Linked DNA regions of Homo sapiens: region 1 is linked to region 2. Evidence: promoter capture Hi-C in 16 types of primary human blood cells and fetal thymus (Javierre and others, 2016). All regions are on one chromosome and are shown on one strand. The core of a region is centred on a gene start or on the middle of the fragment in contact, and the rest is flanking DNA. Distances in the headings are between cores, read along the strand shown.

The links. The method cuts DNA at HindIII sites, captures the fragments that hold promoters and counts their contacts. A CHiCAGO score of 5 or more calls a contact.
Region 1: a fragment that was not itself captured here is called in contact with the fragment with the promoter of MANBA in region 2 in 1 of 17 cell types (neutrophils); the score reaches 5.2 in neutrophils.

What each region holds. Positions count from the first base shown.
Region 1 is chr4:101,349,700-101,356,665 of GRCh38, reverse strand. No RefSeq gene overlaps it. Among named protein-coding and RNA genes, the nearest start is that of PPP3CA-DT, 5.4 kb to the right of the region's middle. The HindIII fragment of the contact is 7,175 bases long and covers 1-5,141 here.
Region 2 is chr4:102,755,779-102,763,322 of GRCh38, reverse strand. It overlaps MANBA (mannosidase beta), which reads left to right and starts at 2,355. Exons shown (of 17, transcript NM_005908.4): 1 at 2,355-2,605. The coding sequence starts at 2,429. RefSeq lists a silencer at 2,191-2,320 and an enhancer at 2,411-2,760. The HindIII fragment of the contact is 23,862 bases long and covers 1-6,169 here.

The DNA.
Region 1 (6,966 bases), core at 305-2,804, 1.4 Mb after region 2:
TAAGGGTATTGAGGGGTTTATATATCCAGAAAAAAATTAAACAATGATGCCTTGGAAGGACAAAAAGAACACAGATTTTGAAATGTCTCTTTCTGCTCTCTCCGCCCCTGTTGAATCTGACCTATTACCCCTCTACCCAGAATGGCTTCATCTGTTTACATGCCTTGCACATGAATCATGTGCTAGTGGCTACGTTAACCCCAGCCTGCATTTCCCTTTATTCAAACAATAACCGTACACTTTCCTTTGAATTTTAAGGGCAAGCCCTTCACAGAAGGCATCTGATTAATCTAGCTTACTTGTGCAAATTAGATTAGGGAAGTTAAAGGTTACCAGCCCATAGGTACCCCCTAGTCAGATGTTCATCCACCCTAGTCCAATCCCCTGTAATGGCAGTAATTAAACCTGTGACCTGATGATCACTTGGCAGGTGAGGCTACTGAGGCATTTTACCTACAGCAGGGATATGGGCAGGACGGGCACCCTAAAGCATATTAACACAATTTCTAAGACAGACTAGATTTCTTTGGGCTGGGCACAGGTAACACCCTGAAATAGAGAGGGAAACTCTTTTGAGGACTGCTCCTAAACAACCATAACCCAAACCGTATCCACTTCCTCTCTGAAAATTGCTGCTATCTGTCCTAACTTATCACCAGGGAATAGCTTAGATGTTGCAAGCAAACAATAGAACCCTTTGTGTATTTGGAGAAGGAAGAAATATGAGTAATACTGTGTCTTCCCTTGGATCTATATAAGTAATTATTCTTACAGTACGGATGTGTGAGAGACACACCTCGTGCTAAAAACTAAACTCCTGAATTCCATCTGTCATCCTCAAGGCCTGAGTCCACTCTCTACGAAAGTTGACTCTGTAACTTTAAAAAATCTAAATGTGAAATTTTAGTTTTTCCTAAAAATATTTGAAATGCTTATTTAAACTATTTAGAAGGTTAGAAAAACTAACCCAGACTAACATTGTAATCAAATATTTGTTTTTTTTCAACAAACATATATTAAGCACCTGGAATATGGTAGGCATGTTACAGGCGATGGAAATTCAATTGGGAACAAAACAAAGTCCCTGCTCTCAAGGTTCATATTATCTAAGTAGATGACAGAAGACCAACAAACAAATAAATCAAACACAGCACACATACAGATGCAACGTCAAGTAGTTATAAATACTGAAAAGGAACTGAAACCCTATAAAGAGGCAGAGAGTGATGAGGTGCTATTTTTGTTAGGTATACAAGTCTACCTTGTCAAGATCACAAATAATTTCTCTTTTTATTAAAATCAACAATCAAATTTCAGTTGTCATTTTACTTAACCTATCAGCATGGTTGACACAATTCATTTGCTTGACTGTGGGGACGTTACCTTTCAATCCCAGAAGCTGCTTCTTTCAGTTGGTTTTGCTGGAACCTCCTATTCTTCCTACCTTCTAACTGAAATAAAGCACTATTATGCCCACGATTTCCAATTTTATACACAAGACTTTCAAGTTCAGGCTTATATATCCGACTGCCCACATGCCATTTCCACTTCCATGTACAATATGCGCCTCAGAGTTAACATATCTAAAGCTAACTTTAGATCTTCTCCAGCAAATATGCTGTCCATTTCTAATGTTTTCTTTCTTAGTAAATGTTAACTCTTATCTTCCATTTGCTGAGACTCAAAATCTTGTAGTTCTTGATTCTTCTTTTTTATTTTTCTCACATCCTGTATCCAATCCATCAGCAAATTCTGTTAGTTCTACTTTTAAAATGCATTTTTGGTATTGGATGCTTTTCACCACTGTCTTCTAAACTATATAACCCAAACTACCTTACTTCTATTGGATTATGACAATAGTCCTTTAACTACATCTTCCCATATCTATTCATTCTTCCTTCCCTCCATTACATCCAGGGTCAGTTTTTACCAAAGAATGATTGTTTTCTTTAAACTTAAGTCCTATCATATCATTTCCTAACAAAATCCCTTTCATTTCACCCAGAATAAAATTCAGTCGTTCCTATGGTTAAGGCCCTACATAATCTGACTTTTCATGATCTCCCTAACCTTATCTTGTACCACTCTTTCGAGTTCATTCTGCTCCAACTACCCTGGCTTCCTTTCAGAGTTTGTAAACATGTCAACCAGACTCTTAACTCTGGACCTTTGCATATGCAGTTCCTTTTACTGGGAACTCTCTTCTTCCACATAGTGGCATAAATATCTTCATTATTTCATTTGAATCTCTGTTCAAATATCACCTTCTCAGAGAGGACTTCCCAGTCCAAGCTGTCTACAACAAGTACAGTGGTACTTTAGTATCTGTGGAGTTTGGTTCCAGGACTTCTTGAGGATACCCAAATCCACACACACTAAAATCCCTGATATAAAATGGTGTAGTATTTGCATGTAACCTTTGCACATCCCCCTGTATATTTAAAATCATCTCTATATTACTTATAATAGCTAACACAATGTAAATGCTATGTAAATAGTTTCTACACTGTCTTGTTAGGAAATAATGACAAGAAAAGAAAGTCTGCACATATTCAGTATACAAGTAGTTATCTTTTTTCCCGAAATATTTTTGATTCAAAGTTGGTCGAATCCATGAACGTAGAATCCACAGATACAGAGGGCTGACTATAGTACCCTTCTTCTCATCACTTCCCTCAATGTTCTTACCACTATGCATTGTTTGCACTTATTACTTAGTCTGCCTGACATGTTGTGTGTGTGTGTGTGTGTGTGTAACTGTTATTAATTGTTCTTTACTATTATCTGTCTCTCCTCACTAGAACATAAGTTTTATGAGGGCAGACACTTTGCTTTGCTTTTTTTCATATTATATTCCTAGTGCCTGATACGTATAGGTGTTCAATAAATACCCCCCCTTTTTTTTCTCCTGAGAGAGAGTCTCGCTCTGTTGTCCAGGCTGGAGTGCAATGATACTATCTCGGCTCACTGTGACCTCCACCTCCCAAGTTCAAGCGATTCTCCTGTCTCAGCCTCCCAAGTAGCTGGGACTACAGGCAGCTGCCACATGGTTGGCTAATTTTTATATTTTTAGTAGAGATGGGGTTTCACCATGTTGGCCAGGCTGGTCTCAAACTCCTGACCTCAGGTGATCCACTCACCTTGGCCTCCCAAAGTGCTGGGATTATAGGTGTGAGCCACCACACCCAGTCTCAGTAAATACCTTGTGAATATATGCCTTCCACTAGCCATGAACAGTAGTAAAAAAAAAAATCTCACTAATTGGAAGTAAATGGAAAGAAGGCTAGCCAATTCTTCTAAATGGTAGAATATTTACTTGCAATTTTTAATCAATAATTGGCAAAATCTGTTTCAAGTAAAAAATATGTCTTTGCCAACTTAGATGAGTGAAACTCGTTACTAATTCTTATATTGATTTTGTATATGCAAATGTGCTTTTAAAGGCTCTGACAAACTTTCTCCTAAATTGATTTACCAGGTCTCCTATAATTTGTCTGTACCTGTAGTTTGATTAGTAAGCCTTTTGCTGGTATTGTTGAAGTTATTCTCAAAGCACCTAAAATATAAACTTAGCTCATTTCATGTCAAATATTCTGAAATTCTAAGTTTAGAGAATCCATAATACATAAAGTTTTACAGCATGTATATTTCTTGGATGTTTAAAAATATAATAGCACATATATTTTAAATGCAAACATTTATGACTTGGAACCATTAATTTATTCATAATTTTCAAAATGTGTAATAAAATTAGAATTCAAAGTAAGAGAAAGGACTAATAACATTTCTCTCCAGCATATATGTGTGTGTGTGTGTGTGTGTGTGTGTGTGTGTGTGTGTGTGTGTGTAGGGGTGGGGATGCATGTTTTTAATTTCATGGGTCATATTGAAATTTCTCTGAGAGTAGGAACAATGTTACTTAGGCTAGTAACTTATATAGTGGACACCAATACATTTTAAAAATTCATTCAACAAAATTTGTTGAGCACCTACTCTGTGCCCAAAACTAGGATATGAGATGATGATACAAACATATTAATAAATAAAATAAATATGAAAATTTATTAAATACAAATGTATAATGATCACAGATTGTCTTGTCAAATTTTACATAAAATATATCTGTCTGTATTACACTTAGCATATAATTCCATAAATTATAGTTTAATCCTAATGGGAAAAAATTAAATTTATTCCTGAATACATTTGATACAAAAATTTTTAATGTTCCTTGAAAAATAACTTCTTTAAATGGGTAAAACTGCCTTCTGAAAGAAACAAGGCTCAACAAAATTTCAAGAGCAATAAAAAAATAGGTAATAAAACTTCCTTTTAGTTTGAACCTCAAATTAGATCTATGTAGAATAGCATATTTCATAGAACCTCTATGGAAGTAGGGTAGAACTAGAAAATGTGAGAAGGAAATGTCACAGGAATTAGCTTTAAGATAATAAATCAAAGTCTCATATACATTCATGGCCCTATCAGGATTGACTGTCCTACTTTGCAGGTTCCTCAGCATTGTGCTCCACTAACTTAAGTGAGGATAGAGCAGACATACTGCTGTCTACCATCAGCTACTCAGAAAAAAGTGAATGCCTCAGAAGAGTCATAATCAGAAGTTTTTTTTTATTTTTATTTTTTTTTGAGATGGAGTCTCACTCTGTCACCGAAGCTGGAGTGCAGTGGCATGATTGCAGCTCAATGCAATCTCTGCTTCCTGAGTTCAAGCAATTCTTCTGTCTCATCCTCCCGAGTAGCTGGGACTACAGGCACACACCACCACGCCTGGTTAATTTTTGTATTTTTAGTAGAGACGGGGTTTCACCATATTGGGCAGGCTGGTCTCGAACTCCTGAGCTCGTGATCCACCTGCCTCGGCCTCCCAAAGTGCTGGGATTACAGGCGTAAGCCACCATGCCCAGCCATAATCAGAAGTTACTACTCAACCGTAATGTCCAAATGATAATAAATTCATCCAAGAACCAAATACAAGTTCAAAATTTTGAAAGCCTGTTATTTTCAAAACAGAATATAACATACAATATTTTATTTTATTTTTAAAACTAAAACATCTGATAAAGCACTTAATAGTATACTAAAATGTACTTAATTTACTGTGATTTGCACCAATGGAAGCTTGCTCTGTGGAGCACTTAAATGCACAGATGACTCCAAATCCACAATATTTTCTTTTTTTGCCCACATATTTATCTTCATAATTACTTTTGATAAATCTAATAGTTTTTCTTCTCCAATAGAAAGAGGAAGTAGCACCTTATACATAAATGTTTGCAAATATAATATATATCTAATGATCATATAACAAGACTTTTAAATCCTTGAATGAAGGAACAAAATCTCTGAATCCTTCTTTACTCCCTACATTTTATGCATCATGTAGCATAGGGCACAGAACAGGTGTGGTCAAAGAATATTCATTAACAGAGAATTAAGATTTGATGCTCATGTATTAAAAGAAGTAAGAGTATTTTTAGTCTTCTGGTAGTTCTCTTATATTACAGTAAAACAATAATTCTAGGTTTTGCTAAGGAATGTACTTTTGGAACTAACATATTACTTTCGTATATTAATTTGGTAATATTAACTAGTCTAACAAACATATCTCCACATTGTAATGGAGTAACACAATAAATGAGTAAAGCCTAATGCCTATTTTCTTAGTAACTGGGTAGTATTCCTCTATGTGGTAATTAAGGGACTCTCGTCTTTGTCTCTGGGGTTCTGCCTGCCCTGGGTCTTAGAAGTCTCTGCATTCCGCTAAGGATGGGAGCCCATAGACTAGAAAATGTATATCTACTGCTTAACTGCCTTGTCCTGAGAGTGACCAACCATCTTAGTCCACAGTCCATTGATCAGAACTGGTCACATGGACCTTCTTCGAGGAAAGAAGGGTCAGGCTAGAAATGGGAATCCCTCTCTGGGCAGACACTTCCCAGAGTGAATTATACTAAGGGAGGGAAAACACATTTTTTTGGTAGACAAAAAGTTGTCTTTTTTCAAGCTTTTCCCCCCTCCTATTTCTTGATAAGCAGGACATTGCCAAAGTCAGCATCTGGGAACTGAAGTAACCCCTTCAAAATGTAAATTCCAAATATAAAGTATTCTCATGCAAGCAGTAATATAATTATGGACTGCTAGGGCAGTCTAACACGGAGGTTCCCAACCCCTGGGCCACAGAACAGTACCAGTCTGTGGCCTATTAGGAACTGGACTGTACAGCAGGAGATCTGCAGCAGAGTGAGCAAACATTACTGCCTGAGCTCTACCTCCTGTCAGATCAGCAGTGGCATTAGATTCCCATAGGAGTGCAAACCTTACTGTGAACCGTGCATGCAAGGGATCTAGCTTGCCCGCTCCTTATGAGAATCTAATGCTTGACGATCTGAGGTGGAACAGTTTTATCCTGAAACCACCCCCAACCACCATCCATGGGAAAATTGTCTTCCGCGAAACCAGTCCCTGGTGCCAAAAAGGTTGGGGATCTCTGGACAGGACAGAAAAAGAATGGCAGTAGGAGAGGGTAGGACATCTGAAACAGTAACCGAATAAAAAAGATGATCTGTCTGTCTACTTCAGGAGGTCAGGTGTATGAACACAAGTAGTCCCTAGTTAATATGCTGCCGTCCTGTTTCCTTAGAGCAGGATCCAATTTTGTTTAAGAGGTGTCAGTGTTGCAGCAGTTATGGAATCATACACAGGCATTAAAAGTTCATGTTGATAATGTGTTGGGAAGTGATTGTGAGTCATAACTTTTTCTTCCCATACATACCTTAGCTAGGAGGTGTCCTAGACTTGTAGCGGACTAAAGGGTGTGCCTGAAAGGTGTGCCTTTATTTCCTATCTGTATCATGTAATTTTATATGGTGCTGACATTTTAAGCCTTCTGATCTTGGTTCAAAGATGTTTATCCTATACCTAGTAAAAAGTTATTCCAAATAAAGG
Region 2 (7,544 bases), core at 1,106-3,605:
ATACTGACCCTACACATCATTTAATCACCGTGGGCATTATTTATCTTTTTAAACCAGGGAACGATCACTTGTTCTAAATAATTCAAGTTTTGGGAAGCATCAAATGAAATGATCAAAATGAAATCTGTTTATACAGTGTAAGTTAAAGATACCCATAACTATTTTAAACATTGCATTTGGTATCATGACTTTAAATTACATAAGTTGAGAAGTTTTATGTTATCTCTAAATAAGGTTTATTTACCAGAAAATCATGGACAAAAATTATCCTATAACAAAATGAAAACATCATGTCATCTGTGCCAATTGCAATTTTAGGAAGAGTACTTATTAGGGCTTTGATTATTCTTTGATGTTCTCTGTTGTCAAAGTGAAGTAACCTAAATGATGTTATGCTTGCATCCTGGAATGAAAGGAGGAATGAGAATCTTCTATTATTGTTTTTCTAAAAATTATATTTCTTAATAAACAGAATATATCCATATGTATCATCAAGGATGAATTTTCCTCTGATTTGGCTTAATGAAATCTCTGGGAATTATGAAAAAATTCCTTTGCCGCTCTTGTTGCCATAAACCTTGTGTTATCAGTGTTGCACAGACCATGGCTAGCCATTTAATGCCGTGAATTATGGCATATAATTTGAATTGAGAGCTTTGTTTCTATCAAAGGTAAAAATGCTTCTGGAGTGAGTGAGGAAGGCTTTGAAGCAGTGAGAGCGTTTCCCCTATAGCATCATTGGGCTCTGACAGTAGGACCTTGAAGAGGAGGGTTCTAATCCTGTCTGCCACTATGTGACAGGCAAGTCACCTGATCTTTTTTTTTTTTTTTTTTTTAGAGTCTTTCTCTATAGCCCAGGCTGGAGTGCAGTAGTGCCATCTCGGCTTACTGCAACCTCTGCTTCCTGGGTTCAAGCGGTTCTCCTGCCTCAGTTTCCCGAGCACCTGCGACTACAGGCACGTGCCACCACGCGCCCAGCTAATTTTTGTATTTTTAATAGAGACAGGGTTTCACCATGTTGGCCAGGCTGGCCTCGAACTCCTGACCTCAAGTGATCCACCCGCCTCGGCCTCCCAGAAGTGCTGGGATTACAGACGTGAGCCACCGCGCCTGGCCCCGATCTCTTTGAACTCAGTTCCCTCATCTGTAAAGCCAGCGGCTTGGGTTGGATAATCCATACTGTCCTTTAAGCCAAGATATTCAGGGCTTGTAAATAATGCTGACTTTGCAAAGTAAGATATTGCCCGGTGTCTGCAGAATCAGGCAATTCCAAGGCCATTGTAAGGCGAAACAAAGCTCAGATTTGATGAGAGAAAATTTCTTTTCAAGGACTTCTTCCGAAGCATAAATATACGGCAGATAGCGTCAACACAGGAGAAAGGCAGTCTATTTTATGCAATGTAAAATTCCGTCTTAACTTCTAGGATTACTGTTACATCCTATTGCAAAAATGGGACTCAGGTAGACCATTTGACTACAAGACCCGAAATAAGTCAGTGGTATTTCTTGGGTACTCTGGCATTGTTAGGGACGATCACATATGTTTACTCATTTTATACTTATAACACCTTGAAAACTTCAAGAAACGGAGATGGAGATTTTGCGGCTTGCCCAGGTCCCACAGCTAGTGAGTGCAGAGGATTTTAAACTCAGCTGCGCGCCTAGTGCAGGTTCCAGAACCTCAGAAACCTCCGTGGGGCTTTATGAAACATAAGGACGCAGGCCGCTAGTAACAATAGCTAACGTGAATGCCTTCTCTGGGCCAGGCTCCATGCTGCATGCTATAGTCGCATTTTCTTGGTTAGCCCTCAGAACAACCTTCTGATGGAGATACTGCTAGTACTTGTTTACTCTTTGAAGGGCGGGGTAGGCTCTGAGACCCGCGAGTTGAGCTGCAGCGGGGTGAGTGTTACGCTACCAGGTAGACGAGGGTCTGTGTAAATTTGGCGGAAGGGAAGTGGTGGGTTGTCTCCCAGTTTGGGTTCTCTGAAGGAGTGAGGGGACTCTCCAGCTATGGTCTCCACGTACAGTCGGTCTCTGATCTCCCGAGGCTTTGTGCCACTGCGCGCCCAGGGATCTTTCTGTCCCAATTACCGTGCAAGATTCTTGCCTCCAGTTGTATGTACTGAGGCGGCGGGAAGAAGCGCCGAGGGAAGGCTCAGACCGCAATGCCCCCCAGCCTGTAGCTATTCTCGGGGGCTGCAGCTCCCGCACCCGCGACGCCCGGCTTTCAGCGGGTGCAGGCGCAGCCTCCTCGTTCCCCTCCCGCCCGCGGCTGCGCCCGGAGAGCGCTCAGCTGACCTAGGGGCGGGGCCGGGGCGGGGACCTAAAGCCTCGGCTACTTCCGAGGGGGTGAGTGGCTTCACCGCCGGTCCCTTGCAGCGCTGCCTTTCGATCTCTCCACATCTCGGTGGCGCGGGATCTCAAGATGCGCCTCCACCTGCTCCTGCTGCTCGCGCTGTGCGGTGCAGGCACCACCGCCGCGGAGCTCAGTTACAGCTTGCGTGGCAACTGGAGCATCTGCAATGGGAACGGCTCGCTGGAGCTGCCCGGGGCGGTCCCTGGCTGCGTGCACAGCGCCTTGTTCCAGCAGGGCCTGATCCAGGTATGGCGTGCGGCCGACCCGCGGCGAGCCTGCGCCCGCCTTCTTCTGGTGCTGAGAGGGGCCCAGGAACCGCCTGGCAGCCCCCAGCTCTGGGCCATTCTCGTCGGTTTGGTAGTAACTTCCCCTTTGCATCTTGTGATCTGCGGGGGGAAATGCCCAAGCTATGGGGTACGGGCTTGACGGAGACTGAGCGACCGACCCATGTTGGGACATCAGTAACTCTGGAAAGGGGAAGTTTAGATAGGGGAACAGTGTTGCTACTAGCAGTTTACTTACTGCAGTCGTTCTCTACTGAAGCGTGTATACAAAGGGCATGCCGTCACTGACAAGCATAAGGTCGGGAATTACTGTCTCTACTGTCTGCACGCCACAGGGGACAACAGCGTTTTGTTAAGTAAGGGTTAACTCTATTGAGTAATGTCTCGGTTTTTTATTTTCGCTGTTAAGCGTCAGGGAGTCAGATTTGGGATTGACGCAGCACAGACGTTGTGGAGAATGACCTACAAGAGTAAAGTTGGGTTTGTCAGTGCTAGTGTGGCTAACAACGGGTAAATAATTTTTAAGGCTAACTTGGTGATGAAGAAAGGTGCTATTTCCTCTCAGGGCGTGTGTGTGTGTGTGTGTGTGTATCCCAATGGAGTCTCCAATTTACAGACTACTTGTGGGGAACGTTTTCGTGTTTGGCTGCCTGTGCGCATAGGTTTGCAAACTGACTTCCATCCTCCAACTGCTTTTGCTGTTCCCTCTTGCACAGCGTTCCCACGTGTTGTCTTTACTTGGGGCAAAATGTACTTGTAATTGATCTACTTGTGGGATGCATACATTGTCCAATCCTCATAACAACTCTGTATAGTAAGTGTTCATATCTGAATTTTATGGATAATATGGAATTATGGAACACAGAGAAATTAGGAAGGTGACAGCAACTAAATGGAAAGAAATGGAATTCTAACCCAGGTGGTCTCAACTCCATAGCCTGGTCTCTATACTATGTGGTATGCTTAGTTTGGTGTTTTAAAAAATCATGTGTTTTTGAAGCACTGTGGCTGACTTTCAGGAGCACCATTCTAAGTTTATTTGCATGACAAGGTGGTCATCTAGGGTTGTGCCAAATTTCTGACCTGGTACTTAGTAGTTTTTTTTTTTTTTTTCCTGAGATGTGTATCAGAAAGGAGGTGAATGTTGTAAATGACATTGACCATTGTCCGATGTATTTTTAGAGTAGATCATTCCCAAACTTTAGTACTTTATTTTAAGTTGACAAACTACTTGTGATAGAGAACACAGCTGACCACAGTATACTCTGAGTTTTCACTTATATCTGCTTTGAGAATGCCTGTGTTTATTTTGTAGGGTTCCTCCTTGCCTGATTTTACTGAAATAATTAAGCCAATGGGTGCTGGTACGTGAGAGCTTTGGGAGGCCAAGGTAGGAGGATCCCTTGAGTCCAGGAGTTCAAGACCAGCATGGCCAACATAGAAAGAGTCTATGAGGCCGAGGTGGGAAAATTTCTTGAGGCCAAGAGTTCAAGACCAGCATGGCCAACATAGAGAGATTCTATCTCTAAAAAAAAAAAAAAAGAAAGAAAGAATTAAGCCAATGGGAAATAATGAGTGGCTTCAGTAAGTCAGATTATTGTGCCATATTACAGAGCTAAGAAGCTAAGAAACAACGTTTGGTTACAACAGATACTTAATGAAAATGAATTTGCTCATAGTATGAAATAACTTCCTCATAGGAACAATTTGAAGAGATTTCTTAACTCTCTTCATAAATTCTTAGCAAAACCTTGAGGTTTCAATCAGGTGGCCATGGGTCTCAAATGGCAGTGGAATGAGAAATGGGAAGGCTTTTGGGGCTTAGGAAACACAAGGCCTGTTGAAAATAATCATCAGGCTGGGCACAGTGGCTCATGCCTATAATCCCAGCACTTGGGAGGCAGAGGTAGGTGGAGTTTAGACCAGTCTGGGCAACTGGCGAGACCCTGTCTCTACAAAAAATTAAAAAATTAACTGGGCGTGGTGGCGTACACCTGTGGTCCTAGCTACGAGGGAGGCTGAGGTGGGAGGATCGTTTGAGCCCAGGAGGTTGAGGCTGCAGTGAGCCGTGATCTGTACTCCAACCTGGGCAACAGAGTGACACCCTCTCTCAAAAAAAAAAAAAAAAGAAAAAAAGTAAAGAAGCAATCATCAACATCAGATCAGTATCGTTATTCAGTAATGTGAGACTGTTGTCCGACCTGCTTTATTATAACATCCCTTTTTGGTGTTGACTTGAGGAAATATTCTACCGTTTATAGTAGACACTGGGCCAAATATTGTGTTTGTGTAAGAACTTGAAACATATCTTGGTGATATCATTCATTTATTTATCTATTCACCTAGTTAATTATCTCATATTTATTTTGTACCTCTAATGTGGCAGGCACTATTCTAAGTACTTGAAATCGAGTGGTAAAGAAAACAAAGTCCTTTCCCTAATGGACATTCTAATGGAGGAGATAGACATATATACCAAATTAATAAATAATGTAAGGCAGGTGGCACACTGAAGAAAAATTGAGCAGGTTAAAGGAAGAGACAGTGAAGGCTGGTTGGAAAGCATTGCTATTTTTTAAAAAGTGGTTCAAGATAGGTATTTTGATAAGGTGACTTCTAAACAAAAAGACCTGTTTGAAAAGGTCACTTTTAAGGAGAAGTGCATTTCCAGCAAAGAGGAAAAACACAGGAGTGGGGAGGATAGAGGCCCTGAGGCAGGCACGAGCTTGACAAGTTTCAGGAATAGTCAGCAGGCCAGTGTGGCTGGAGACCTGGGAACCAGAGGGTAGGAGAGGAGTTCAAAGTCTAGGGCACATCATGAAAGGCTGTGAGCCATAGGAAACACTTTGGCTTTTATTCTACATGTGATGGGAAGTTATTGGAGGCTTTGAGCTTAGAGTAGCATGATTAGATTTGCCTTTTTAAAGGTCACTCTGTTGTGTGAAGGCTACAGTGCAGGAGAGTGGAAGCCTGGAGACCAACCAGGGGACTATTGCTGGTCTATGTATGGGCAAGAGATGACTTCTGGCTTGGACAAGCATGGTGGCAGTGAAATGGTGAGAATGGTTGTGAGAACACGTTTTACATGTAGAAACAAGAGGATTTCTTCAGTTGGATTTGTTAATGGATTGGGAGACAGAAGGGGGAGGTGCAGGAAAATACCAGGATTTTTTTTATCTGAGCTGGTTAAATGAAATTTGTATTTAGTGAGAGATTCTGTGGCTAGTCTTGGCTATTTCCTAGGTGATTCTCTGGGTTTTCTGTACAGAATCTAAACCTTTGGTTTCTTAGAGAGTCTTTTGGGTTCTCTGTGAAAAGTTATTCCTTCAGCCTGCTATTTTTTTTTTTTTGAGACGGAGTTTCGCTCTTGTTGCCCAGGCTGGAATGCAATGGTACTATCTCGGCTCACCGCAACCTCTGCCTCCTGGGTTCAAGAGATTCTCCTGCCTCAGTCTCCCAGGTAGCTGGGATTACAGGCATGTGCCACCATGCCTGGCTAATTTTGTACTTTTAGTAGAGACAAGCTTTCTCCATGTTGGTCAGGCTGGTCTTGAACTCCCAACCTCAGGCCATCCACCTGCCTCGGCCTTCCAAAGTGCTGGAATTACAGGCATGAGCCACCGTGCCTGGCCCTCAGCCTGCTATTATGCCACACAGTGTAATAGGCATTAGGAATAAAAAAAGAAATTGAGAGTGAGACTATAGTTCCTATTTTGTGGGAGGCCACTTTAGTGAGGCAGAAAACTAAATAATTTCCATATGTTATGTTAAGTGCATACATAAAGGGACCCTTGTTAGGAATGTTCTCAGCTTTTCTGTGGAATTTCTCACTGGTGTAAGTTTTGAAGCAACTGCTTCTTTTTTTTTTTTTTTTTTTTTTTTAGATAGTCTCTGTATGCCAACATTAAAATATATAGATAAGTAAGAAGAAGGTTGGAAACATCACTCCCAGAGATAACCACTATTTTTTTTGACAGCTGTTCATGTGACTAATGCCCCCAACAGTTTTATATATTTATTTATTTTTATTTTTTATTTTTTCCCTTTTTTTGTTATACTTTAAGTTCTAGGGTACATGTGCACAACGTGCAGGTTTGTTACATATGTATACATGTGCCATGTTGGTGTGCTGCACCCGTTGACCCGTTAACCTCATTTACATTAGGTATATCTCCTAATGCTATCCCTCCCCCAGCCCCCAACCTCATGACAGGTCCCAGTGTGTGATGTTCCCCATCCTGTGCCCAAGTGTTCTCATTGTTCAATTCCCACTATGAATGAGAGCATGTGGTGTTTGGTTTTCTGTCCTTGTGATAGTTTGCTCAGAATGATGGTTTGCAGCTTCATCCATGTCCCTACAAAGGACATGAACTCATCCTTTTTTATGGCTGCAAGGTATTCCATGGTGTATATGTGCCACATTTTCTTAATCCAGTCTATCATTGTTGGACATTTGGGTTGGTTACAAGTCTTTGCTATTGTGAATAGTGCTGCAGTAAACATACATGTGCATGTGTCTTTATAGTAGCATGATTTATAATACTTTGGGTATATACCCAGTGATGGGATGGCTGGGTCAAATGGTATTTCTAGTTCTAAATCCTTGAGGAATTGCCACACTGTCTTCCACAATGGTTGAAATAGTTTATAGTCCCACCAACAGTGTAAAAGTGTTCCTATTTCTCCACATCCTCTCCAGCACCTGTTGTTTACTGACTTTTTAATGATCACCATTCTAACTGGTGTGAGATGGTATCTCATTGTGGTTTTGATTTGCATTTCTCTGATGGCCAGTGATGATGAGCATTTTTTCATGTGTCTTTTGGCTGCATAAATGTCTTCTTTTGAGAAGTGTCTGTTCATATCCTTTGCCCACTTTTTGATGGGGTTGTTTGATTTTT